Regions from separate parts of the Homo sapiens genome. Here all the other regions are linked to region 1. Evidence: promoter capture Hi-C in 16 types of primary human blood cells and fetal thymus (Javierre and others, 2016). All regions are on one chromosome and are shown on one strand. Each heading gives the region's core, a stretch centred on a gene start or on the middle of the fragment in contact. The rest is flanking DNA. Distances are from core to core; before and after follow the strand shown. Region 1 holds the start of FBXW2 (F-box and WD repeat domain containing 2). Region 2 has its middle 2.9 kb from the start of GSN. Region 3 holds the start of RAB14 (RAB14, member RAS oncogene family). Region 4 overlaps CNTRL (centriolin). Region 5 overlaps CNTRL (centriolin). Region 6 holds the start of C5 (complement C5).

Region 1 (3,986 bases), core at 630-3,129:
GAATGTTTGCTCCAAAGAGATATGGGTGCTTGATTTTCTTGATTACCCTGGTACTGCCTTCCCTTTCATAGAGAGTATCCAATCTGTATATCTGTCTTCCTAAATGTCTTATAATGCTGTGATCAGTCACGTTCTGACTTAGAAGTCTAGAGTGACATCCTGTTGCTTAGCAAATCAAATTTGCTCTCTTGAGACCTTACTTTTAGGACACCGTAGTTGACTTCCACCCCACATAATCAATTTTTATTTCCCATGTTTCAAGTACCCTAAATGAAGTCAGGATGCTTGGAACCTTGGCCATGCTCTACCATCTACTGGATATGTGTCTCTCTTATTGTCTATATTATTGGACTGTGCTATCAAGCATGGTAGCCATTAGCCTCATGTGGCTATTAAATTAAAATTAAATAAAATTAAGAATTTAGTTCATTTACATCAGGTACTTTTCAAATGTTCAGTAGCCACAAGAGACTAGTGACTGCCTTATTGGACAGCACCAACAGAACAACTCCATCACTGGCAAAAAGCTTATTGGACAGTGTTGGTATAAGATGTATGTGAATGTGCGTGTATGCATGTATGGCTTAGGAACCCTTACAGAGAAACAAGGATAACTTGTGCGCTGGGCATTGTGGTTCACCCCTGTAATCCCAGCACTTTTTGGGAGGCCCAGGCAGGTGGATCACTTGAGCCTAGGAGTTCAAGACCAGCCTGGGTAACATAGCGAAACCCTGACTCTACAAAAATACACACACACACACACACACACACACACACACACACACACAACTAGCTGGGCATGGTGACACGCGCCTGTGGTCCCTTCTACTCAGGAGGCTGAGGTGGGAGGATCGCTTGAGCCTGGAGAAGTCGAGGCTGCAGTGAGCCAAGATCGTGTCACTGTACTCCAGCCTGGGCGACAGAGTGATACGTTGCCTCAAAAAAAAAAAAAGGATAACTTGTGCTCTGAAGTCGGTTTGGGTTGAAATCCTATGACAGCCATTTACTATGACCTTAGGCAAGATGCCTAAACCTCTTTTGATTTCAGTTTCCCCATCTCTAAAAAGGGGCCTAATAATAGTTACTAGCTTGTGGGGTTGTTGTGGGAACTGAGTGAGATGGTACACAAAAAATGTTGAGAAAGAGTGCGTGGGATTTTTTAGCTCAGTTTTAGTTCTTGACGCCAAAAGGTTTGCATGCTTCATTTCCTTCAATCCTCAGAGCCTTCGGATGGGGACCTCACTATAATTGCTATGCAGATGAAGCAAAGTCTGAGAGGTTAAGTAACCGGGCCACAGCCAGAGTGTAAACGTTGTGATTCATTCAAATCTACATCACTTGACTGTCTCTTTTCATTCAACAACCTCCTTACCTTGCTTTATTTTTCTCCTTTGCACGAGCCTTAGTTTATCTGTCTTCCTCCTCCTAATAGATGTAAGGCCCAGGCGGTCAGGGGCTTTTGCGTTTTTTGTTCACTAACCCTATCCCCTAGAACAGCGTTCGGGATAAAGAGGTGCCCAACAGGTTGTATGAATTTGGACACGTCTCTTAACTTCTCTAAGCCACAGCTCCCTCTCCTCCGTAAAATGAGGATAATAAGAAAAACTACTGCAGAGCTGGTGCAAGATCAGATTGGAGGAGGGACATAAGCGCGCTGTGCAAACCTGGATGTACGGTACGAAAGGAACCTCCGTTCTAGGTTGCACCCAGCCTAAGCACCGTGAGGGCCGCGCGGCACGCGTTCAGCTTCCCGGGACGCTCTTCTCCCCACCCCTACTCCCGGCCTCCAGCCTCCCACCACCCACCTCCGGGCGGGGACCGGAAGTGCAGCCGCTTCCGCCGGGAGCCGCGGAGCTGAGGGACGCGCGGAGATGACGCAGGCAGCACCGGAAGCCGCTCCCCTGTGAGGCTGCGGACCGGGAGCAGCGGCCGCAGGTCCGGGTCTGTATGCGAGGCGGGGCCGGTCGGGGAGGGGACTCTTAGGCGCCCGCGGCTCTGCTGACCCGCCGCGCCTTGGCTGTTTTTCTTTCCCTGCAGGCGCCATGGCTGCGGAGCGGACCCGGCCGCTGCAAGGCTCTGGCGGTCCGAGCGTGCCTAGTAGCTGTGAACCCGGCGCGAGGTCCCGGGCCCCGGGGCGCTCGCTCAGGTCAGTGCCGCGCGGAACACGATTCCGAGAGCAAGGGACCTGGGAGCAACGAATGGGTTGATGGGATCTGGATTTTAGAGACGGGAAAACAGGGTTTTGGAGTTACTGCCTCCTACTGCCTCCATTTCCTTAGCTGCGAAATGAGTTAACAGTGATGTCCCAGGGCTACCAAACGTTTGAAAGACGATGAAGTGTGATGAGGTGGTTTATGAAGTACAAAGCGCTATACTGCGCCATAATTGTGGGTATGCCATGAAAACAGGTGTGTATGTGGGGTGCTGCTTGAAGTAAAGCAAAGATAACAATATTAATGCTAAGTAATAATGGTAACTGACATTTACTGTAGGCTTACAGCGTGCCGAGTACTGTGCTAAACGCTTTACTTGCACTGTCTTGTTTAACCCTCATAAAAACCCTTGTAGGTAATGCTCTTGGCTGTATTTTACAAGTGAGGAAACAGGGCATGAGACAGGTGAAGTGATTTGCCCAAGGTCACCCAGCAACAAGTGGAGTTGCAGAACACATATTTTATAAACATTATTTGTATTCTTTCAAAGCTTTAAAAAAATTCACCTTAAAACTAAAGGCTATTTTTTGATAGTATATTATACTTAACATGGTTTTCAGTTTTAAAAGGTATACAATAAAAAGGGACCCCTCATTCCTATTCTGCAGCTCTCCAGTTCTCTCTGGAGGCAACCAGGGTTATCAGTTTCTTGAATATTCAGAATACATTTTATGCATATGTAAGTTTATAGGTGTGTATACATTTTCAGCGCCTCTGTGCTCTTTGTTTGATAAGAAAAGGGGGAAATGAAGCCTCCTTCCCTCTACCACTAACAATTATGTTGCTTTCACTCTTGACTAGGCCAGGTTCTGATAGAGGAGGAGGGGAAAACACATTTACACTGTTTTCCAGAAGGTCCTGTCTCTAATACCTCTGAGTATAGGTTTTGGGAGAATGGGTACTGGGCAAAATATTGAGCCTGCTACTTCCTGTGCCATTCTGGGAAGGCCACTCCACTTCTTGAGCCGTAAATTTCCTCATTAATGTTAGTTAAGGGCGGCATTACTGATACCTTCCATGAGGTTATGAAGATGAAATGAGATAATGTTTACCAGTGGTACTTTTTCTTTAAAACCAATATAAATATGTGAGTTGCCTAGGTAACATAGGGAGTTAATGGCAGAACCTGAGACCAAACCCAGGCTCTCATTTTCCAATTTAGGAGTCTTTTTGTTGCATGACCCACTTTGTGATTATTGATACTGAAGGCAAGAGGGCAAGTTGAATGTTAACTCTGGGGTAGGGACGTAGGGTAAGGGGGCCAAACAGCAGGGAATGTGGGTAGAATAAGGCACCTACTGGGAAACTAGAGCCTCCAATAAACAGGTGCTCTTCTTTATAAAATTAAACCCCTAGTAAGTTTGAGCCCTTGAGTTTTTCTTCCAGGTATTTTGAAGAGAAACTTAGTGATAAGATGATAGGGTCAAAAGAGATGTTAGTGGTCATGTCCATTCCACCCTTAGTGTCACAGAAATCTTTACTGCCAGGTGTTCATAGTAGTAAAACTAACAAAAAGTACCATTTGAGTTTTTACCCGCTAGACTGTACACTGTGCTAAGCATGTCCCTGCTATATTTCTGAGTTTCACCCTTCAAGTTGGATGATGGCTTCCATTTTACAGATGATAAAACTGAAGCTTAAAAGTTAGTTGGACATGCCCATAATCACATAGGAAGTGGCTGAATCAGTAAAACATCTGGCCAACCTCCAAAGTATTTTCATTTATCACATTCTGCCTCTGTGTCCAACTGTCCTTGACTGTTCGTGGTAATG
Region 2 (3,986 bases), core at 425-2,924, 470 kb before region 1:
ATTTCAACAACATCTCATATGCATTTGAGACGATAGCCGTTTATAATGCAGCAAGGCATAAGACGGCCTCCCAGCAGTCCTGGTGCACACATGAGTTCCCAGGACTTTTGGAGTTGCCGCGTGACTCCGGTTTGGAAGGATTCACACACTCCACAGGAGACTGCACCACATGACAGAGATGTCCATTCCCAGCCTGGGTGCTGGCAGCAGCCCCATGTTCAGCCAGGGTAAAGCTCCCTCTTAACACAAGGTAAAATGTACTAGAGTCAGTAATTGCCGGGTGCTGGGGATCAGAGCAGAAAAGGCTGTTGTTTAAGTAGCACAGAAGCCAAGAGCACAGTGCTCACTCCCTGGTTTTTCCATTGAATAGCAGCCAGGGAAGCCACAGGACCCAGGGAATCTCACCCTGGCTCTTCCTCCTGCCATTCTCTCTTTGTTCAACACCAGTAAATACAAGAACCATTTCTTGAATGCCTCATGCCATGCTCTGGGCTTCCCACGTATTACCGACTTTAATTCTCACCTCCCTACCTGGCCTCCTAAGGGAGGCATTACCATGTGTATTTTTCAGATGAGCAGGCCAAGCCCACAGAAAGGGTTAAGTACTCTCTGGAGGTCACACTACTGATACTGTGCAGTCTACTCTTCTATGCCTGAGTCCTTGGCCCTCGCTTCTTTGCTCAATGTCTTATGTCACACTCTGCCACCTTTCCTGGCTTGGGAAATTCTGCCCAGTTCCACTTTCTCTGAGAATACAAGCAAGGTATCCACCCCGCAGGGAGGCTCACACCATCTCTGCTACTCTCTGCTTTCTCCAGAGGCTGCCTGGGGCCCAATGCAAGGCTGCTGGGGAGAAAAGCAAAAACACAGGCTTATTTGGCTCTGGAATCTTTGATTACAAGCCCCGGCATACACATGCCTTGGAATTATCTAACATATCATTTCCAGCCCCAGCAACTGCTCTCAGACAAAGGGAGGTGGAACTCTGAATCTGTGTCCCCATAGAACTGGAGAATACCACATCACGATGGAGGAAACATTGGAGAATGTCTGCTCCAACTCCTCCCTTTAGAGATGGAGAAACTGAGGCCAGGAGAGCAAAAGGGTTCACATTCTAAGCTAGATCTAAGGTTCCATATTCTAAGCTGGGTCAGATGCCTACCCATAACCCTGTAATTGCTCCATTTGGTGGCTGGAGAGGAACATGGGAACAGGGTATCACCAGGAATCATTAGAAATGATAATGAAGATAATGATGATGATGATTGATTGATGATGATTGTGATGATGATAACCAATACTTACATGGGAGTGCTCCTCTAGGAACACTTCTAGAAATCTCCTGGTGCTTTGCTTTATGACTCAACATGTGTATTTTATAGCTGGCAGGATATATCAAGTCTGCCTTTCATGGATGCCTAGAAGTCTTCTTGGTATCCTGTCTTCATTCCTTTCTAGATACCTCTTTGTACTTCTCCCCCCATTGGATCTAGGTAAGGTAAGGCCTGTTTGTCCTGGATCCTCACCTCAGAGTGAATGTCTTGCTGATAAGGATCTCCTCTGATGGAAGAACTTTGATATCTTCTTTTGCCAGAAGACCACCTCCTTCCCAGAGTGAGGCTGGGGAGAAATGAAGGCCACACACAGGCCAGGCATTAGACAATCTGGGGGTACCTGCTCTCTCCTCTGAGAACGCCTCTTCCCACCCAAGGGGATGGCCCTCACTTGCACCCAGGTTTGTACTGTAACCTTCCCCCACAACACAGTTGACAGCATGAGGAGTGGACGGCAGAAAAAAGCTGGACTATTAGAATTTGGAGCTGGAAGTTGAGACATGACAATCATGGTTAATTAACTGGGTCTGTGAGGACCAATGATCTCTGAAGGCCAAGGCTGCCATTTTGAGGTGGCCATCTTCCATCGTATTCACAGAGAAAGCCAATGAGGCTCGTTAAATGACTAGAAGGGTGTCGCAAAACTCACAGAGGAGATGCCTGGGCTGGGCAGCCCAGGAGGCTTCAGGGTTCAGGGGCTCTTCTGATTACAGACCTCTCCTGGAGCTGGCTTCAGAAAGAGAAGTTATCAGCACAAGTATTTGTTGAGCATCGAATGCCTTGTAGTTTGTCCCTAGAAGCAGAGGATGAGACAGGGATTTCATACAAGGGATTACTTGAGAGAGCACTCTCAGGAGATCCTGAAATATCCCATGGAACACTAGGGCAGGGGTGCAGCTGGGCCTCAGGATCAGACCACAAGCAGGACCTGAGTACTAAAGGGAACCCAGAAAGTACTCTCTCCCCCATCTTTCATCTCTGCCTGTCTGCTCACATCACACAAGCATTTCTGCTTTCCAGAAAATGGCTTTTACCAGCAGCAAGCTGGAATCTTTGTTTGTAGTCCACATTCTAAGTTGGATCAGATGCCTACCCTTTATCTAATTAACTCTGGCCCGAGTGACAGGGTCCTACTGCACAAACCTGGCTGCTCCCACTGTAACCTGTGGGTGGAGGGGGTGCACTTCCCAGAGAAAAGGGGAGGGGAAGCCAAGCAGAGACAACGGCTTGGATTCAGTCAGCCTTGAAAGGATGGAAAGAATAAGAGTGGAGGTGAGGAAGGGAACAGCATCTTCTGCTAAGAGCACAGAATAAGCAAAGGTGTGGAGGTCAGAGAAAGACAGAGCTGGAAGAAGGAAAGGAGACTGTTATTTTCTCCAGCCTCGGTCCCCTTTAGTGTTGTGCTAGTGTTGTGTTCTTAAGAACTGATTTAGTGTGTTTAGTGTTGTTTTCTTACGAACTGATTGCTCAATTTCCATGAATTTTTGTGGATTTTTTTGAGACAAGATTTCACTGTCACCCAGGCTGGAGTCAGTGGCACAAACATGGCTTCCTGCAGCCTTGACCTCTGGGCTCAAGCAATCCTCCTGCCTTAGCCTCCCAAGTAGGTGGGACCACAGGTACATCCCACCAGGCCTGGCTAATTTTTATGTTATTTGTAGAGATGAAGTCTCTCTATGTTACCAGACTGGTCTTAAACTTTTGGGCTCAAGAGATCCTCCCACCTCAGCCTTTGAAAGTGCTGGGATTATAGGAGTAAGCCATCACACCTGGCCAAATTTCCATGCATTCTTACACCCAGCTGTATTAAGGCTGTATTAAGCACAGCCTTCAATAACAATCTATATAAACTTATAATTAAGTAAATTATAAATTGATATGGTCTGGCTCTGTGTTCCCACCCAAATCTCATCTCGAATTGTAATCCCCATAATCCCCATGTGTCAAGGAAGGAATCTGGTGGAAGGGAGGTGATTGGATCATGGGGGCAGTTTCCCCCATGCCGTTCTCATGATGGTGAGTTCTCATGAGACCTGATTTTTTTTTTTTTTTTTTTTTGAGATGGAGTTTCCCTCTCGTTCCTAGGCTGGAGTGCAATGGCGCAATCTCGGTTCACCGCAACCTCCACCTCCCAGGTTCAAGCGATTCTGCTGCTTCAGCCTCCTAGTAGCTGGGATTACAGGCACCCGCAACAACGCCCGGCTAATTTTGTATTTTTAGTAGAGACGGGGTTTCTCCATATTGGTCAGGCTGGTCTCGAACTCCCGACCTCAGGTGATCCACCTGCCTCAGCCTACCAAAGTGCTGGGATTACAGGCGTGAGCCATCTTGCCCAGCCGAGACCTGATTCTTTTAGGAGTGTTTGGCAGTTCCTCCTTCACACACTCTCTCTCCTGCCACCACGTAAGACTTGCCTGCTTCCCTTTCCACCATGATTGTAAGTTTCCTGAGGCCTCCCAGCCATGTAGGACTGTGAGTCAATTAAACCTCTTTCCTTCATAAATTACCCAGTCTCAGGTATGTCTTTATAGCAGTGTGAAAATGACTAATACATAAATAGAGGTAATAAATTCTCAAAACTTAGTACTTCATAATTATTTTACTATATTTCACTATTATCTGTGCTCTTATTTTCACCATTTATCTATATGG
Region 3 (3,986 bases), core at 789-3,288, 410 kb before region 1:
GGGCTTCAGCAACAGATCCAGGACAATAGGAAGAGATGTATACATGGAATAAACCCCTCTCAATGTCTAGTTACATAAACATACATGTCTTCTTTGCCCTCCTCTTATAGTTTAACAAATGTTGGCATACTATTTAGTTTTCTGCACCTTGCTTTTTTCCCTCCAAGTATTTCCTAGACATTGTTCCATATCAGGACATATACATGGGCCTCATTCTTTTTGATGGCTGCATAGTATTTCACAATATAGATGTACTATAATTTACTATTACAGCTTTCTAGTGATAGACATTTAGTTTGTCTCTAGTTTTTTGTTATTACAAACAGTGCTGCAGTGACTATTCCATGTATACATCTCTTCTTATAGAAACAACTTTTTAAAAAAGTTAAGTAGAAACCCCAATGGATGTTTGGCACCCAATGGACAGTCCCTCTTAATTATGCTGCAACTGGTCACATACACTCTCCTCACTTTGAAAATTCTGGGACTTATTAAAAGAATTGACCATTCCTACTGTTTTTTAATTGCATTCCTTAGCATGTGATAGGCACTCTGCATCCACAAGAGTGTTTCTGTTCAAAGCTGCATCAAAGTGTAATGTCTTTCACATAGGAAAGCAGCAGTTAGGGACCTGCATTTAAGCTGGCTATTGTGAAACAAGAGCAAATAAGGGAGGAAATGGAATAGGGCTTAGTACAGCCCTGAGGTCACATGTTGCCAGATTTAAGTCCCACCCAATTTTCACCTAAACGACTTTAGATCTGTATGACACTCAGTTTTTTCATTCATAAAATGGGGTAAATATAGTACTGACTTCATGCGGATGTGGTAAGGATTAAATGAGAAAATATGCATGATTCTTAGGACAGTTGCTGGTACATAGTAAGTGTTGAATAAACATCAGCTATACATAAAGATCTCCCTTCAGGTGATAATGGCTATAAGGAAACTTACTAGCCAGGTCTAAGTTCATACCTGGGCAATTAATGATCATTGGTTCACAGTTTTCTCCTTTACTTGGCACAGGCAAATTTCTTAGTTTCAAAAATGTTAAAGTGTGACAACAAACTATACTTATTAAAGAATGTGGAAATAGAAGCCTAGACCTCTAGGGTTGCAAAAGGATTTCAATATCACCTTAGATTAGATTATCATGTAATAATCATTTCCATTTCTTATTATATACCAGATATTTTGCATATACTATCCCATTTAATTTTCACAAAGACCTATTTGAGAGAGATATTACTATTTTCATATTGCAGAAAAGACTGACAATCTCAGAAATCAAGTGACATGCACAACTGCATACCATTAGATTATAGAGCAGGAATTCGAACCCAGGTCTCTGAAAATATGAGATGTACAAACTGGCACACACTTTTACAGTGAAATCTCACTTGTTCATGGCAGAACCAGTTCATAAAAGGTCCTGAACGCTAAGAGAAAGATTGATTTAATTTGGGGGTGGGGAACTAAGGCAGGGCCACCTTATCCATTAGGCACAGTACAGTATGCACAGGGCTTAGGGCCTCCAATACTTTTAGGGGCCAACAAAAATGAATATTTATTTATTTTAGAGACAGGGTCTCCCCATGTTGCCCAGGCTGGAGTGCAGTGGCTGTTCACAGGTATGATCCCATTACTGATCAGCACGGGAGTTTTGACCTGCTCCATCTCCGACCTGGGCCGGTTCATCCCTCCTTAGGCAACCTGGGTGGTCCCTCCCTCCTGAACTTAAGTGCAGACACTCTATCTAGTGACACAGTGCACTACAGCCCAGAACTCCTGGGCTCAAGCGATCCTCTCTCCTCAGCCTCCCCAGTAGCTAGGATTACAGGCGCAGACTACCAGCCCTCCTTGCTTACGTTCCTTTTTTTTTTTTTTTTGAGACAGTCTCGCTCTGTTGCCCAGGCTGGAGCGCAGTGGCGCGATCTCGGCTCACTGCAAGCTCCGCCTCCCGGGTTCACGCCGTTCTCTTGCCTCAGCCTCCCGAGTAGCTGGGACTACAGGCGCCCGCCACCACGCCCGGCTAATTTTTTTGTATTTTTAGTAGAGACGGGGTTTCACCGTGTTAGCCAAGATGGTCTCGATCTCCTGACCTCGTGATCCGCCCGTCGTGGCCTCCCAAAGTGCTGGGATTACAGGCGTGAGCCACCGCGCCCGGCCGGCTTACATTCTTTTAAAGTCAGAAGAAAAAAATGAACTTTCAGGTCAGAGAAAATATTTTGTTATATAATATTGATACGTCATGTTTATATCAATGCAGTTGTAAAATATGTTAAATATTTATACATATATTTAACTTACATGTGTGTGAAATATATGTGTGTGTGTAATGTACAAGCCACAAGGCAAAAGTGCTCAGGGTCCAAGAAAGTCAAAACGTGTCCCTGCACCCGAAAAGCACGAAACCTTCTGGGGCAGTGATTATGGCAGAGCAAGTTGGAAGATGGCAGGTGGTAGACAAATTGTGAAAAATATCACATTTCTCTCACCCTGTCAAAGGCAACCCCAAAGTGAAGTCAAAATAGAGATGAAATGCAGGGTCACTTCCTAGCTGCGTGATCTTGGACAAGAGAGTTGACCAACCTGAGCCTCAGTTTCTCCATGGATACAATGGGGATGCGTGCCTCCGACGTTTGTTGGACAGGACCGGTATATACGAAGCATACAGCGGTATATACAGTAAATGCCCCCATAAATACACGTTGAATGAATGCAGTAAATGCATGCTTAGCATGGTGGCCAGTATACGGTAAGCGTCCAATAAGTGGTAAATGTTGGCTTTAAAAATTGTTCAAAAGTCTCCACGAGCGACAACCCTAGTTCTCCAAGACGCAGGCGCACCCCACCAGGTTCCACGCAGACCTGCGCAGTAGCTCCCCCAAGAGGCGAGGACACGCGACTGCGCTTGCGCATACGCGCTTTCCACCTTCCCTCCGGGCGCGAGCGCCCGTGGGGCGGGCCTCAGCGGCGGCGCGACAAGTCCAGAGGTGAGGGCTGAGGAAGGGGCGTGGCTAGCGGGCTGGCCTCAGCCACCCTCTTCCGGGCTCCGCCAGCTGCGCGCGCATCTTCTCCCCCTTCTTTTGTGGTCCGGCCCATTGCGAGGGTGACAGGAAACCCTGTGCAGGGAGCGCCGCCATCTTGGACCAGCCCGAGGAAGATACTGAGGGAGCACAGGAGCAGTCACCGCTGCCACTGCTACTGCCGCTACTGCTGCCGGCGCGTCTGCACCTCTCGGCCTGCCAGTGTACCTGCCGGCGCCTCGGTCGACCGCCCCCGCCCCCTCTCCCGCTGCGTCCGCACTCCTGTTCCTGGTCCTGACGCCCCCCTCCCGCCCGGAAAGCTGCCCAGCCACCAGCAACCCCCCAGGTAACCCGGGCCTTCCGTAGTGTCCGGCCGGCTGATACCTCCTCGCGCCGGGTTCTTCAGAGGGGCGTGTGTGGGGACGGTGGAGACTGGGCCGCAGGCGGGCGGCGCCCCGGGGCCAGGCCCCGTCAGGCCGTGGCTAGCCCGTGGGTCGGCGGTGAGCGCCGCGGCGCCGGCCTGACAGGACTCCTGGGCGGGGGCGGAGGTGTCCCCTGCGCGGCTCCGGCCTGAGCCTCCTGCCCTCCCCAACCGGCGGGGCGCTCCGAGGCGTGCAGGGAAGGGTGTGTTCCGGCCTCGCCTTCCCCGCCTTCTCGGCGCGGCTGGGCAGGACCGCATCTCCCGCGGGCCCCCCTCTCGCCGCTGTTCCCCGCGGCCGCAGCCCGCCCCCGCAGGGTGTACCCACGCGTGCCGCGCCGCCCTGCAGCCCGCAAGCCCCAGACGTGGCGGTCCCGTCCCGTAGGCCGCGTCTGGCTCTGAGTACAAAGGCAGCTCTTCGCAGCCCTCTTGGCGTCTCGGGGCAGCTCCGGTGTCCTTGTCGATGTGGGGAGCCCGGCCCTGCAGCCGGGCCGGGCCGGGGCCGGGGTCTGGGTCTGTGCGCCTGTGCTTGCGATGTC
Region 4 (3,986 bases), core at 542-3,041, 370 kb before region 1:
ATAAATTTTTTATCTATATTGGCTTTGTCAATTACTAGCTGTGTGACCTCTAGCAAGTCACTTCTCATTTAAGCAGTCACAAGAAAACTAAGCTTCAGTTTCCTTATTTACAAATGAGTAAAATAATTTTTATCTCATAAAAATGTTATGAGGATTAAGTGAGAAAATGAAATACCAAGGATATAAAAAATGTTCAACAAGTATATTATTAGCTAGAATTACTCAGCAATTTCTTCTAAATAAATTATCATATTTATAAACATTTGGTAATTTTAAAATCTTCATTATTTACATCTTTGTTTTTGTTTTTCAAACTAGACACACCCCTAGGAAAAATCTGGAAGGATATTCACCAAACTGTTACTAGGAATCTATGAGGAGTGAGGTCAACAGCAATTTTTATTTCTTTTTGCTGTTTTAAAATTGTTCTCTAAGGAACATGAATTAGGTTTTTTTTTTTAACTGACTTTATTGAGATAAAATTCACATATCATGTCCTATTTAAAGTGTACAATTCAAAGGCTTTTAGTATATTCCAAGTTGTGCAAACATTACCACAATCTAATTTTAGAAAGAAACACCATGCTCATTAGCAGGAATTACTTGTCGTAAGAAAAATCAAAGAATCTAACGAAGGGCAAGGAAATCACACACTTTCACTGTTTTGCTGCCTTATACCTTGGAGCTGCTGTTGCATTGCTGAAATGTCGTTATGCAGTGACAACTTGTCTCTGTTTAGTTGGTCTAGTTCCTGCTGCAGTTTTCTGACATTCAATTCCAACTTTTCTAAGTTTGATTGCTCCATTTTGCTATTTTCTTCTGCTGCTGCTAAAACCCTACCACAGAGAGTAAGTCAGACTGTCAAATATACAAGCACACACAGGAGATGACTGAGGAACAGTGTTATCCTTTCACAACATACAGTTATGGAAAGTATAAATGATTATAAATCTTCACAAAATTTAAGACTCAACTCATTTTCAGAATCTTATTATCAGCTTTCTAAGTGGAGACTTTTTTCAAAAACTGACTCACTAAATTGAAGTTTTATAAAAATCATGGATTAAAAACATGGATAACATTCAGAATTCCAAAAATCTGATAAAAATGGAGCTGTGACAATCGAAAGAGTAGAAAACAATTGTGTGTACAGTAGGATCTGTCCATATAGCAGACATGCATGAGCATGTATTGTAGTACATAAAGGGAGTCATACAGTTTGGACTTGCTTTTGGTCTGGCTTCTTTCACTCAACGTAGTTACTTTGAGATTCATCCATGTTGTGTATATCAATACTTCATTCCCTTCTTATTGCTGAGTAGTATTCTACAGTGTGGATATACCACAATTTGTTTATCTATTTACCAGGTGATAGACAATTTGGGTCATTTCTAGTTTTTGGCTATTACAAATAAGGCTGTCATGAACATTAGCATATATACTGTGTAGAAATATGCTTTCATTTCTCTTGAATAAATATAATACCTAGGAGTGGAATGGCTAGATCTTCCGATTGGCGTATGTTTGATTTTTAAGTAACTGTTAAACTGTCTTCCAAAGTTTAACAGTTACTTAATACCATTTTACATGCCCCTCAATCATATATGAAAGTTCCGGCCAGATGCGGTGGCTCATGCCTGCAATCCCAGCACTTTGGGAGGCCGAGGCAGGTGGATCACGAGGTCAGGGGATGGAGACCATCCTGGCTAACATGGTGAAACCCCGTCTCTACTAAAAATACAAAAAATTAGCCAGGCGTGGTGACGGGTGCCTGTAGTCCCAGCTACTCAAGAGGCTGAGGCAGGAGAATGCCGTGAACCCGGAAGGTGGAGCTTGCAGTGAGCCAAGATAGCGCCACTGCACTCCAGCCTGGGCAACAGAGCGAGGCTCCATCTCAAAAAAAAAAAAAAAAAGTTCCTGGTTAATATTAACATTTGGTATGGCTGTTGTTCTAATAGGTGTGTAGTGATATCTCACTGTGGTTTTAATTTGCATTTCTCTAATGATTAATTATCCTGCGTATCTTTTCATGTGTTTATTTGCCATCCATTTATCTTCTGTAATGAAATGTCTATTCAAATCTTTTGCCCATTTAAATAACTGGGTTGTCTTCTTATTGAGTTTTGAGAGTTCTTTATACATGTATTCTGAATACAAGTCCTTTATCAGATACATGGGTTGCAAATATTTTTTTCCCAACCTGTGACATATCTTTTCATTACCTTGTGTCTTTTGAGGAGATGTTTTAAATTTTGAAGTCTAATTTTATCAATTTATTATTTTATGGATCATGCTTTTGGTGTCATACCAAGAATTTTTGCCCACTCCAAGGTCACAAAAGTTTTCTGCTATGTTTTATGTTTTCTTCTAGAAGTTTTATATTTAGGTTTTACATATATGTTTATGGTCCTATATATAAATATAAAATAAATATGTATATATATATATATTTTTTTTTTGAAACAGGGTCTCACTCTGTCACCCTGGCTGGAGTGCAATGGTATCATTATGGCTCACTGCAGCCTCAATCTCCCTGGCTCAAACAATTCTCCCACCTCAGCTTCCCAACCTGGCTATTTTTATTATTATTTTTTTTTTTTTGGCAGAGACAGGGTCTTTCTATGTTGCCTAGGCTGGTCTCAAACTCCTGGGCTCAAGTGATCCTCCTGCCTCGGCCTCCCAAAATGCTGGGATTACTGGCATGAGCCAACGTGCCTGGCCTCATTTTAAATTCATATTTATATATTATACATAGTGAGGTATGAATTGAGATTCTTTTTTTGGTTTTGTATATCCAATTGTTTCAGCCAACATTTTTCTAAAAGACCATCTTTTCTCTACTGAAAAAGATGCCTTTTTATCTTTATCAAAATCAGTTGTTCACATATATGTCAGTTTATTTCTAGACTTTCTATTCTGTTCCATTGATCTATGTGTTTATCTTTACACTAATACCACAGTGTTTTGATTACTACAGGTTTATAAAAGTGTTACAAATCAGGTAGTGTTAGTCCTAAATTTTTGTTCTACTTTCTAAAAGTTGTTTTGGTGTCATACCTAAAAAATTGTATAAATTCTATTCTAGGTCTTAGAATAATTCGATTCTAGGTTCATATAATTTTAGAACCAGCTTGTCAATTTCCACAAGGAAAGGCTATTGAGATTTTAATTGTTAACTGTTTTGAATCTAGAGATCAATTTGAACAGAACTAAATCTTTAACAATGTTGTCTTTTGGTCCATGAACAAGATATATATCTCCATTTATTTCCAGCATGTATCATTTTACTTAAAAAAAACAAAATAGATTTTAAAAAAATGCTTTTGAGCAAAAAAAAAAAAAGCTAGAAGGAAATTCTCCAAAAAAATGCAACTGGCAAAATGTATTATGATACCAAGTTTGTGGTGTATTTTATCTTTTTCTCTATTTTCCAAATTTTTTATAGTGTGTTTATAATGCTTTGGCCTGAAGAAGTGATCCTGCAAGCTTATTTGTTCTTGCTCTCACCTTTTGGTTTGTGCCAACTTTTTTTCCCAAATGTCACATTTCTCTTGGAGATCTTCCTTTTCTTTGCTCAAACACTCAACACACGATTGTAAAGCTCGGGACTCAGCAGTCATTCGTTCTATTTCTCGTTTATCCCTCTCAAGGAGCTGCTTCTGCCACTCTATTTCCCCTTTCTGCTGCTGGGATATCTGCTGCAAATTCTCTAACTCCAGTTTCTCCTAAATCAGATAAAAGAGGACTCAAACATCTTAAATGAGAAAGACTTCAGTTTCTTAAGGGTACACTGGCTTTGTTCATTACCTCTAGCACTGCCACCTGAGTCTTCTCTAATTCAGATACCCTTTGGTCATGTTGTAGCTTCAAACCTTGTAGCTCATGGTTTTCAAGTTGCAACATGTCCAGAATATTCTTTAGTTCTAAGGGATAGAAACAAAGCATGGTCCATGATATTAAATGAACTTGGAAAACATTTACAAAAT
Region 5 (3,986 bases), core at 1,065-3,564, 300 kb before region 1:
AGAAATCAAATCTTGAAGCGGTTTCAACTTGCTTATATCTTGGAGCTGAAATGATATAACATTAGTATTGGTATAATTTAATTTAAAAATCATAACATACTTAAAGGAAGTTACAAATCAAGGAAATTTAACATGGCAAGGAATCTATTCATGAAGCCAATTACCCAAAAGTAGTGGTGTCAGGAAAGGGAGTATATGAGTATTTATAGTGTATTTGGGCAGTATTAGGTATTTTCCATACACTATTTCATTTGTGACTCCTCACAACAACTTATCATGTAAGTATCATCTTAATTTTACAGATGAAGAAATTCAGGATCAAAGAAGTTAGGCGACTTGCCCAAAGCTCAAAGCCTTGTAAGTGAATGAAACAGGATTTGAATTCAAGTTTGTGTAACTCTCAACTTTGTCTTTTCATTATACTGATTTAACAAATCAAAAAAATGAATAGTTATAAAAAATATTTTGGTAAATCTTCAGATAACTGTGCTATAATTGACAGTTTATTCAGATAGTTTATTCTCAACCTAAAAAGGCTGAGAAACAGTACTCCAAATAGCTAGTACAAATAAATCTTCTCTCCCAAGTGAATGTGCAGCACTCTTCATAATGCCAATGTCAAATATCAATGGGGTGAGGACATCATACAAAATTAGAAATAAATATTTATTGATTTTCCTATTGCACAGCTGACACTAAGTTGACACTATCTAAGGATCAACTACTTCAGGAATATTTATGGCAAATTTTAGATCTATGGCTACCTCTTCCCATCATCCCATAGCATCAACAGCCCCAAGGTGATGCTGTACAACATGGGGTTGGGCTTGGGCTCTGAGGCTCTTGACTGTCACAGGATGAAATTAGAAAGCATAGGTATTGTTAACAACATGGCATTAAATGAATATTGCTTATTATTATTGGCCTCCACTGGTGAAGGCTTAAAGAATATAGCTTTAGACTTATTTAGTGTTTTAAAGTTTTTTTTAAAGCATTTTCACATCTATCATTTCATCTGAGCCCCCATAATACCCCTGTAAAGGAGGCAGTATAGGGATTGTTTTCCCCAAACAGTGGTTTTAGAGGGATTAAAGAATTCTCCAAGGTCATGGAAGGCAATTCTATAGAGGCCCATCTTTGAAGTCACATCTTTCATTTTCTATTCTACAACTGATGTTCATTAAATTATGGCACAATTTTCCCAATTTTAATACAAATTTAAATAAATTAACAAATTTACTAAGCAAATGCTTATTAAATACCTAGCTGTGAATAAATACCATAAGAAAATCATAAACTATATTCCAGAGAAAAATATACAACATCATCCAAATATGTAAATCATAACAAAGTTGCTCTATTATGAAAAGCTAGTGATCAACCTCCTATAACACCTAACATTATAATCAAAATAAACTGGTAAATTTGAAATTGGAAGTTAATACTGTCAAAAAAAAAAAAACCCAGAACTTTCTTCTAGGCATTCAGTGATCTGGATCCTGGCACAAAATGTGACTCTAGATAAGGGACTTAACCTGTCCTAGACCTTACTTGCTACTACCTAACTCATAGTGTTACAAAAATAATCCTTGTACTGCCTTCTTAACAAGAATGTTATGAGGCTTACATGAAATGATAAATGTAAAAATGCTAAGAGGTCAACCCTAGGTTGACCTAGGAACCCATGCAAAATGAGGACTGCTTGTATTTAATTAATCTAGAAAATCATGGGCTATGTCTGAATCTAGTGTTTAGTCAAAGGAGCAAAATCTTTAAAAGAAGAAATCCCATTTTTAAAAAACTTAGATATTTTTAATCTTTTATTTTTTAACAAGTCTAAAAATTCCTGCTATTTTGAATAACTTACCGATGATATCTTGTTGCCTTTCAAATTGAGGACTCGCAAAGATTTTAACTTCTTCCCTAACCATACTGGAATATGCTCAATTTCATTTCCTGCAAGGTTAAGCTTTTGCAGATTACACATATTTTCTATGCCTTCAATTTTGCTGGAAAGCAAAGGATAAAATAAAATTTAGTGAGTACAATTATAGAGTCTCTCCATTGTATTTTTAGAATAAACAGCTTTAGCTCCATGTTAGATTACTTTTCATAATGATAATTTATCAACTCTTTTCATAAATGAGAACAAAGAAAAGTGGCTAAAGCCAAATTTACCAGAACAGCTAAACTGCCAACTTTTTATTACTATGCCCAGGAATCCTATCAATCTTATTATTAGACTTTGCAACTCCATAACATAGAAAAGAAAAATGTGACCATGGCATTCTCACCGACTACTGTGAACAGTACTAGCAAACAGCCAGTGGAGACCTGGGAAACTCAATAGCACCCTGTCCTATCTGCTACATTCCTGTCCAAAAGATGTTCCTAATTATTGTCTTAAGTTATCATAAAAAGATTAGCTATGCCAGCAGGATATGGGAGCCCATAGATGATACTGTATTTAGGAATATAAGTAATTTAACCAGAACTTTTAAATAAAGCATTTATCACACATATTAATGAATTCTGATTGATGAAGGTTTTTCCCAAGTCACTTCTAATTTATTTGTCAATTTAATTCTTTGGTCAATTTTCTATACTGCACAAATACTTCAAAGCCTCTATCTACACTGGGTAAATATTTCTAAGCTTCTCTACTTTCAATTTTATTTTGCTGAAAATATTTTCATCAGAGTCAACTTTTTATACAAATTTTATAATAAGGGTTTGGTTCATTAATCATTTTTTTTCATTTCAGTTTTGTCATATCAGAACTTCTGCCATTGCTAGTCATTTTCTTGGCCATCATATTTACCAAGTCTAACTTGGGGGAAAAGCATGCAGATATTAAGAATTTCAAGATTTGATTCTTGTATCATTTTGTCTATAACAAGTTTTCTATATGAAGTTTTAGCCAGTGTCAGTTTTAGTATGTTTATTTCTCACAGTAATATATATTATGAATTGGAAACAGGATTGAGAGCATATTTCTTGTAGCAATAAGCAAAGAACATCAGAATCAAAACAGATTAGAACATCTTGGGGGTCAAAATGGCAGGGTTAAAACATTCTGCTTCATGTCAACATTCTTAATGTAATAAGGTAATAAATCACAGACAATATCTGGGAAAACTTCCTGTCAGAAATGAAATTAAGATACAATTTGGTGCTCAAAAATATATCTCTTTGATAATGCTAGATGTTATTCTGTACTTCAGTAATGCCAAAACATAAAGACAGTTACCTACCATATGTGAAGAGACAGACATTCATTTGATTGATGAATAAAGATAAAAATATCTTCTGTTTCTGTCAAATCATTCTTTCAGTAATGTGGATAACATTAATCTACCTCTCTAACAAAGCTATCTGCAATGCTGCCTAAAGATTTTGTTATATAACTCACCTGATTTTGTTATATGATAAGTTGAGTTCACGTAATTTTAACAGCTTGTCCAACTTTTCAATCTTCCCTATTAGATTATAGCTGAGATTCAGTACTTCAAGTTTAACACATTTTTCCAAATTCTCAATATACTAATTGGAAACAAATGAATGAATACTTTACACAACAGATGACTTGACATAAAGTACAACATTTACTTATGTGCATCAGGGTCTGTTTGATCAGTCATCAGAAAATAATATACCCTTACTGCTCTCCTGGAGAATCCCTTGATGCAGCTCTCCTTGACTAGGAGTAATAACTCTACTCAAGCTACCAAACTCTCTTTGCCCTTCAGTTGACAACAACATTGTCTATATACTAAGAAGCTCAAGACTATCCAACAAGATTTCCCTCACTGTCATTCCCTCTACCTCACTTTTGCCATACCTCTCCCTCTCATTCCCCTCCTTTCTTCCAAAAGATAGTGCTATGGTTTTAGTGTCCCCTCCAAAGCTCATGTTGAATTTAACTGCCATTGTGACAGTTCTGAGAGGCGAGACCTTCATGTGGTGATTAGGTTATGAGGGTTCTG
Region 6 (3,986 bases), core at 783-3,282, 260 kb before region 1:
TTTTGGTTTATTATTTATTAATTCAAAGCAAAGAATGCCAATGTGACCATAAATATCTCATTTATATATCATAAATATCTCATTATAGAAATATGTTTAGAGACATCTGTTTTATTATTTTAAAGAAGAGTACATATTATATATTAAGGTAAAAATAGTACTAAAAAAGAGAAGGTAGTAAATAAAAAAATTCTAATGAACATAAAACATCATAAAAATTAACTTAATTAAAAATCAGCCAGGCACAGTGGCTCATGCCTGTAATCCCAGTACTTTGGGAGGCCAAGGTGGGTGGATCACCTGAGGTCAGGAGTTCGAGACCAGCCTGGCCAACACGGTGAAACCCTACCTCTACTAAAAATACAAAAAATTAGCTGGATGTGATGGGACATGCCTGTAGTCCCAGCTACTTGGGAGGCTGAGGCAGGAGAATGCCTTGAACCTGGGAGGCAGAGGTTGCCCTGAGCCAAGATAGTGCCACTAGACTCCAGCCTGGGCGACAGAAAGAGACTCTGTCTCCAAAAAAAAAAAAAAAAGTATAAAGATAAAATTTTAGTATATTGTGAATTAATTACTAGACTCAATTGTTATAGGAAGCTTTGTTTTTCTGGAGCTCTTATATTAAAATTATTAAAATCCTCACTGAAAAGTATAACATGTGTTTTCTTTAAAAGAAAGATATTCTATATCTGAATAAAGACAAACTTTGAACGAGTGGTATATGCCTTAATAAATATTGGAGAATATCTATTCTCCAATACTTAGAGAATGACGACAGCATCCTCCACATGGCGTTTTCATTGCCAGTCACAACTTTCCTCCACCTAGTGTTCTCTAGACTGAGACAGACCAAGGAACAATTCCCTAGACCTCCTTTGCAGAGCTAGGTTATGCTCAGACCATTTGCAGCACCAAGGACACTGCCATTCAGGTCACCAAAAAAAGATCATCTTGTGAGCCCTGTCTAAACCAGGCCCCTTCTAAAATCATTTCAGTGTGAAACTGAGTCCAGGTGGGTCTTCATCAGTATTAGAGTGGACCTGCCAGATGTATGCTTGCAGATGATGCAACATCAAAGCAAATGCCCTGGGCAAGAGAAGAAAGGCCAAAGCAATGGGCTTACTGGTTTCTAGCTTTGAGCCACTCTTCATAGTGCCAAATTCCCATTTTAGGGTCCCTTTATTTGTATTAATAAAAATAAATTCCCTGGGTGTAAGTTCCTGTAAAGTACTCCCTATCTGTATTCCTGGGCATGAAAGGGTGTTTTAGTTCCAATTCTAGTTTTCCCACTTAGAGGTTCACCTTTCTGACATTAATAATTAACCAGATTATCTGAATTCTTCAAGTTCAGTTTATTTAAAAGGAGACTATCCTCAAAAGTGTTATATCCGTGGTTTCCTGCTACCTCCAACCATGGGCCTTTTGGGAATACTTTGTTTTTTAATCTTCCTGGGGAAAACCTGGGGACAGGAGCAAACGTAAGTAAAACAAGCTATCTTCATTTTTCAATGCATCTTAGTTATGACGAATGAAGAGTTAAATTTAACAGATTCTGTTAACTTGAAAATAACTTGCTACTTCTGAGAACAGCAAGTGAATAGTATCATCTCTGAATGAGAAAGTCATGGAAGCATTTTGATTTGATGAGTAGCTAACAACATGACAGCTTTTATGGAATTGTTATTTATTAAAATTTACGTTAAGTGATTATTCAAATTCCTCTTCAAAAAAGCACAAAAGAAACTCCAGATAATAAACTTTCTTGACATTTTTTGCTTATTTTAACTTGGTGTTTAGTTTTCTTTGTGTTTTTCATAGACTATACACAGTTAAACCAGGGTTATTTAGGAGTCAATCTAATACTGTGATCTGAAAATCTGTTGTTGTAGTGACTTCTACCATACATTTATGAGCTGACTTTTCACAATTTTTAGTGTCATTATTGAGATAATATGCATTTTAAGTAATGTTTTAAAAATAATGATCTTATATCTAGAAATATTTTAATACTGAAAAGTAACTGCAGATCATCTAATCAAACCTATTCATTTTATATATGAGAATAAGTCCAGATAAGGGAAGTGACTGACCAAAGGTCACAGTTCTAGAGAGAGAGAAACAGGATTTTTATTAAGGTCTCCTGTTTATCACTTCAATTTTTTTCATTTTGTCATAAATGTATACATGTAAATATATTATATATAAACACATACTTAGGATGTCATTCTTTTTTAGCACCCTCGTATTTCTGATCTGTGATCTTTTTACATGGCCACAAGCACTCAACTACCTTAGCATCCTGCCTTTATTCTTTTTGAAAGACGAGCAGCTAAGGCTTAGAGAGACTGAAATTAAGTGACTTCAAATTGGTGGCAGAACTAGGGCTAGGACCTGGGTTCCATGATTCTTGTCCAGACTTATTCTGAATTCTTTCTACTAGCCCTTAATAAAAATTATTTCCTCACTTTCTCTGAAGAAGTCAGAGTGTACCATTTACAACATGGCAATCAATCACTTTAATTAATTGGTTGATTGATTGATTCAACAAATATTTATTGAGCATCTAAACATATGATAGGCACTGCAGATATAGCAAACGGTAAGACAATTCCTAGAGCTTGCATTCTAGTGGGAGAAGCAAGTAATGAATGAATGAACCAATGAAAGAATGTGTAAGGTCAGGTAGGTAGTATTATGAAGAAAAAAATAAAGCAGAGTATGAGAATTAAAAAATAATTATGGGGCACTATTTTAAAATGTGGCCAGGAAAGGTTCTCTTAAGGAGGCTGCACTCAAACAGAGCCTGAAGGAAGTGAGGAAGCAAACCATGCAAATATTTGAGGAAAGAGCATTCCAGATAGAGGCCAAAATAACATTCTTGCCTCTCTGCAAGCTCCTGCTCCTCTGCAGCAATTGAAAGACAAAGAAAACTATGAAATTATTTATATGGATAGATTATGCTACTGATAAGTCAATAAGAACCAAAATCTTTATAAAGGGTGGTTCCAGAATATTCTTTTAGGGGCTTCTAAACACTATGTATTTTTGCTTGACGGCTACCATCACATAGACCAGCAGTCCCCAACCATTTTGGCACTAGGGACAGGTTTTGTGGAAGACAATGTTTCCATGGACCAGGATTGGGGTGGGGATGGTTTCAGAATGAAACTGTTCCACTTCAGATCATCAGGCATTATATTCTCATAAGGAGCTTGCAATCTAGATCCCTCGCATGTGCGGTTCACAATAGAGTTCATGCTCCTAGGAGAATCTAATGCCACCACTGATCTGACAGGAGGCAGAGCTCAGGTGGTAATGCTCCTTTGCCCCACTGCTCACCTCCTGCTGTGTAGCCTGGTTCCTAACAAGCCATGGACTGGTATTTGTCCATGGCCCAGGGGTTGGGGACCCCTACCATACACAATTCAAAATTAAAGCAATACTAAACTTAAAAACATAAAGCTTCTATAAATACTGAAATTAAAGTAGCTTTATATCCCTAAATTTTTCTAATTACAAAACTCTTTATAAATTCCATTTAGTACAACAGTTGAAAATGTTAATTCTGGAAACGGGCTGCTCAGGTTCGATTTCTAATTCTATAATTTGTGAATTATAGAATTCATAAATCCTATATGTGTGGCCTTGGGAAAATTAATTAGCAGTTTCTTCACCTTAAAATTGGAGTAATAGTTCCTCACAGAGTGGTTGTAATGACACAATGAGTTTATACAAATAAAGTATTCAGAATAGTGCCTTATCACAGGGCAAAATTTCAGTAAATATATCTTATTATCATAAAAACTGAACTCCTCTCATTTTCTGCCATCTCCTACTAGGCATGTGGGGAAGGGGAATTCAGATGATGGTTGGAAATCTGGAAATTCTTTCCTCTCTTTTGTAATTTGCCTGTAAGTGGATCCAAATTAATTGTAATGCAGGATAACTGTCAGATGCTTTAAAGGATTTAATTGCTGATAAATTAA

What was found. Contacts are between HindIII fragments. The CHiCAGO score rates a contact against its expected background, and 5 or more counts as called.
Region 2: a fragment that was not itself captured here is called in contact with the fragment with the promoter of FBXW2 in region 1 in 2 of 17 cell types (total B cells and naive B cells); the score reaches 5.9 in total B cells.
Region 3: a fragment that was not itself captured here is called in contact with the fragment with the promoter of FBXW2 in region 1 in 8 of 17 cell types (total CD4 T cells, fetal thymus, naive CD4 T cells and 5 more); the score reaches 9.6 in total CD4 T cells.
Region 4: a fragment that was not itself captured here is called in contact with the fragment with the promoter of FBXW2 in region 1 in 5 of 17 cell types (total CD8 T cells, naive CD8 T cells, non-activated CD4 T cells and 2 more); the score reaches 7.2 in total CD8 T cells.
Region 5: a fragment that was not itself captured here is called in contact with the fragment with the promoter of FBXW2 in region 1 in 3 of 17 cell types (naive CD4 T cells, total CD4 T cells and non-activated CD4 T cells); the score reaches 6.2 in naive CD4 T cells.
Region 6: a fragment that was not itself captured here is called in contact with the fragment with the promoter of FBXW2 in region 1 in 12 of 17 cell types (total CD4 T cells, naive CD4 T cells, naive CD8 T cells and 9 more); the score reaches 14.0 in total CD4 T cells.

What each region holds. Positions count from the first base shown.
Region 1 is chr9:120,791,309-120,795,294 of GRCh38, reverse strand. FBXW2 (F-box and WD repeat domain containing 2) reads left to right here and starts at 1,879. Exons shown (of 8, transcript NM_012164.4): 1 at 1,879-1,941; 2 at 2,038-2,146. B3GALT9 (beta-1,3-galactosyltransferase 9) reads right to left here and starts at 1,828. Exons shown (of 3, transcript NM_001386823.1): 1 at 1,373-1,828. RefSeq lists enhancers at 866-955, 1,386-1,485, 1,548-2,178. The HindIII fragment of the contact is 2,176 bases long and covers 530-2,705 here.
Region 2 is chr9:121,263,295-121,267,280 of GRCh38, reverse strand. It overlaps a transcript of GSN not described here. Among named protein-coding and RNA genes, the nearest start is that of GSN, 2.9 kb to the left of the region's middle. The HindIII fragment of the contact is 6,397 bases long and covers 1-3,986 here.
Region 3 is chr9:121,201,028-121,205,013 of GRCh38, reverse strand. It overlaps RAB14 (RAB14, member RAS oncogene family), which reads left to right and starts at 3,145. Exons shown (of 8, transcript NM_016322.4): 1 at 3,145-3,375. It also overlaps a transcript of GSN not described here and the pseudogene RN7SL181P. RefSeq lists enhancers at 2,564-2,723, 2,994-3,213, 3,032-3,531 and silencers at 3,224-3,693, 3,714-3,963. The HindIII fragment of the contact is 7,258 bases long and covers 1-3,986 here.
Region 4 is chr9:121,161,793-121,165,778 of GRCh38, reverse strand. CNTRL (centriolin) reads right to left here. Exons shown (of 44, transcript NM_007018.6): 33 at 3,808-3,923; 34 at 3,508-3,725; 35 at 679-836. Among named protein-coding and RNA genes, the nearest start is that of RAB14, 38 kb to the left of the region's middle. The HindIII fragment of the contact is 3,394 bases long and covers 95-3,488 here.
Region 5 is chr9:121,094,445-121,098,430 of GRCh38, reverse strand. CNTRL (centriolin) reads right to left here. Exons shown (of 44, transcript NM_007018.6): 5 at 3,413-3,543; 6 at 1,868-2,009; 7 at 1-45. Among named protein-coding and RNA genes, the nearest start is that of CNTRL, 21 kb to the right of the region's middle. The HindIII fragment of the contact is 686 bases long and covers 1,972-2,657 here.
Region 6 is chr9:121,047,674-121,051,659 of GRCh38, reverse strand. It overlaps C5 (complement C5), which reads left to right and starts at 1,385. Exons shown (of 41, transcript NM_001735.3): 1 at 1,385-1,478. The coding sequence starts at 1,414. The HindIII fragment of the contact is 2,865 bases long and covers 600-3,464 here.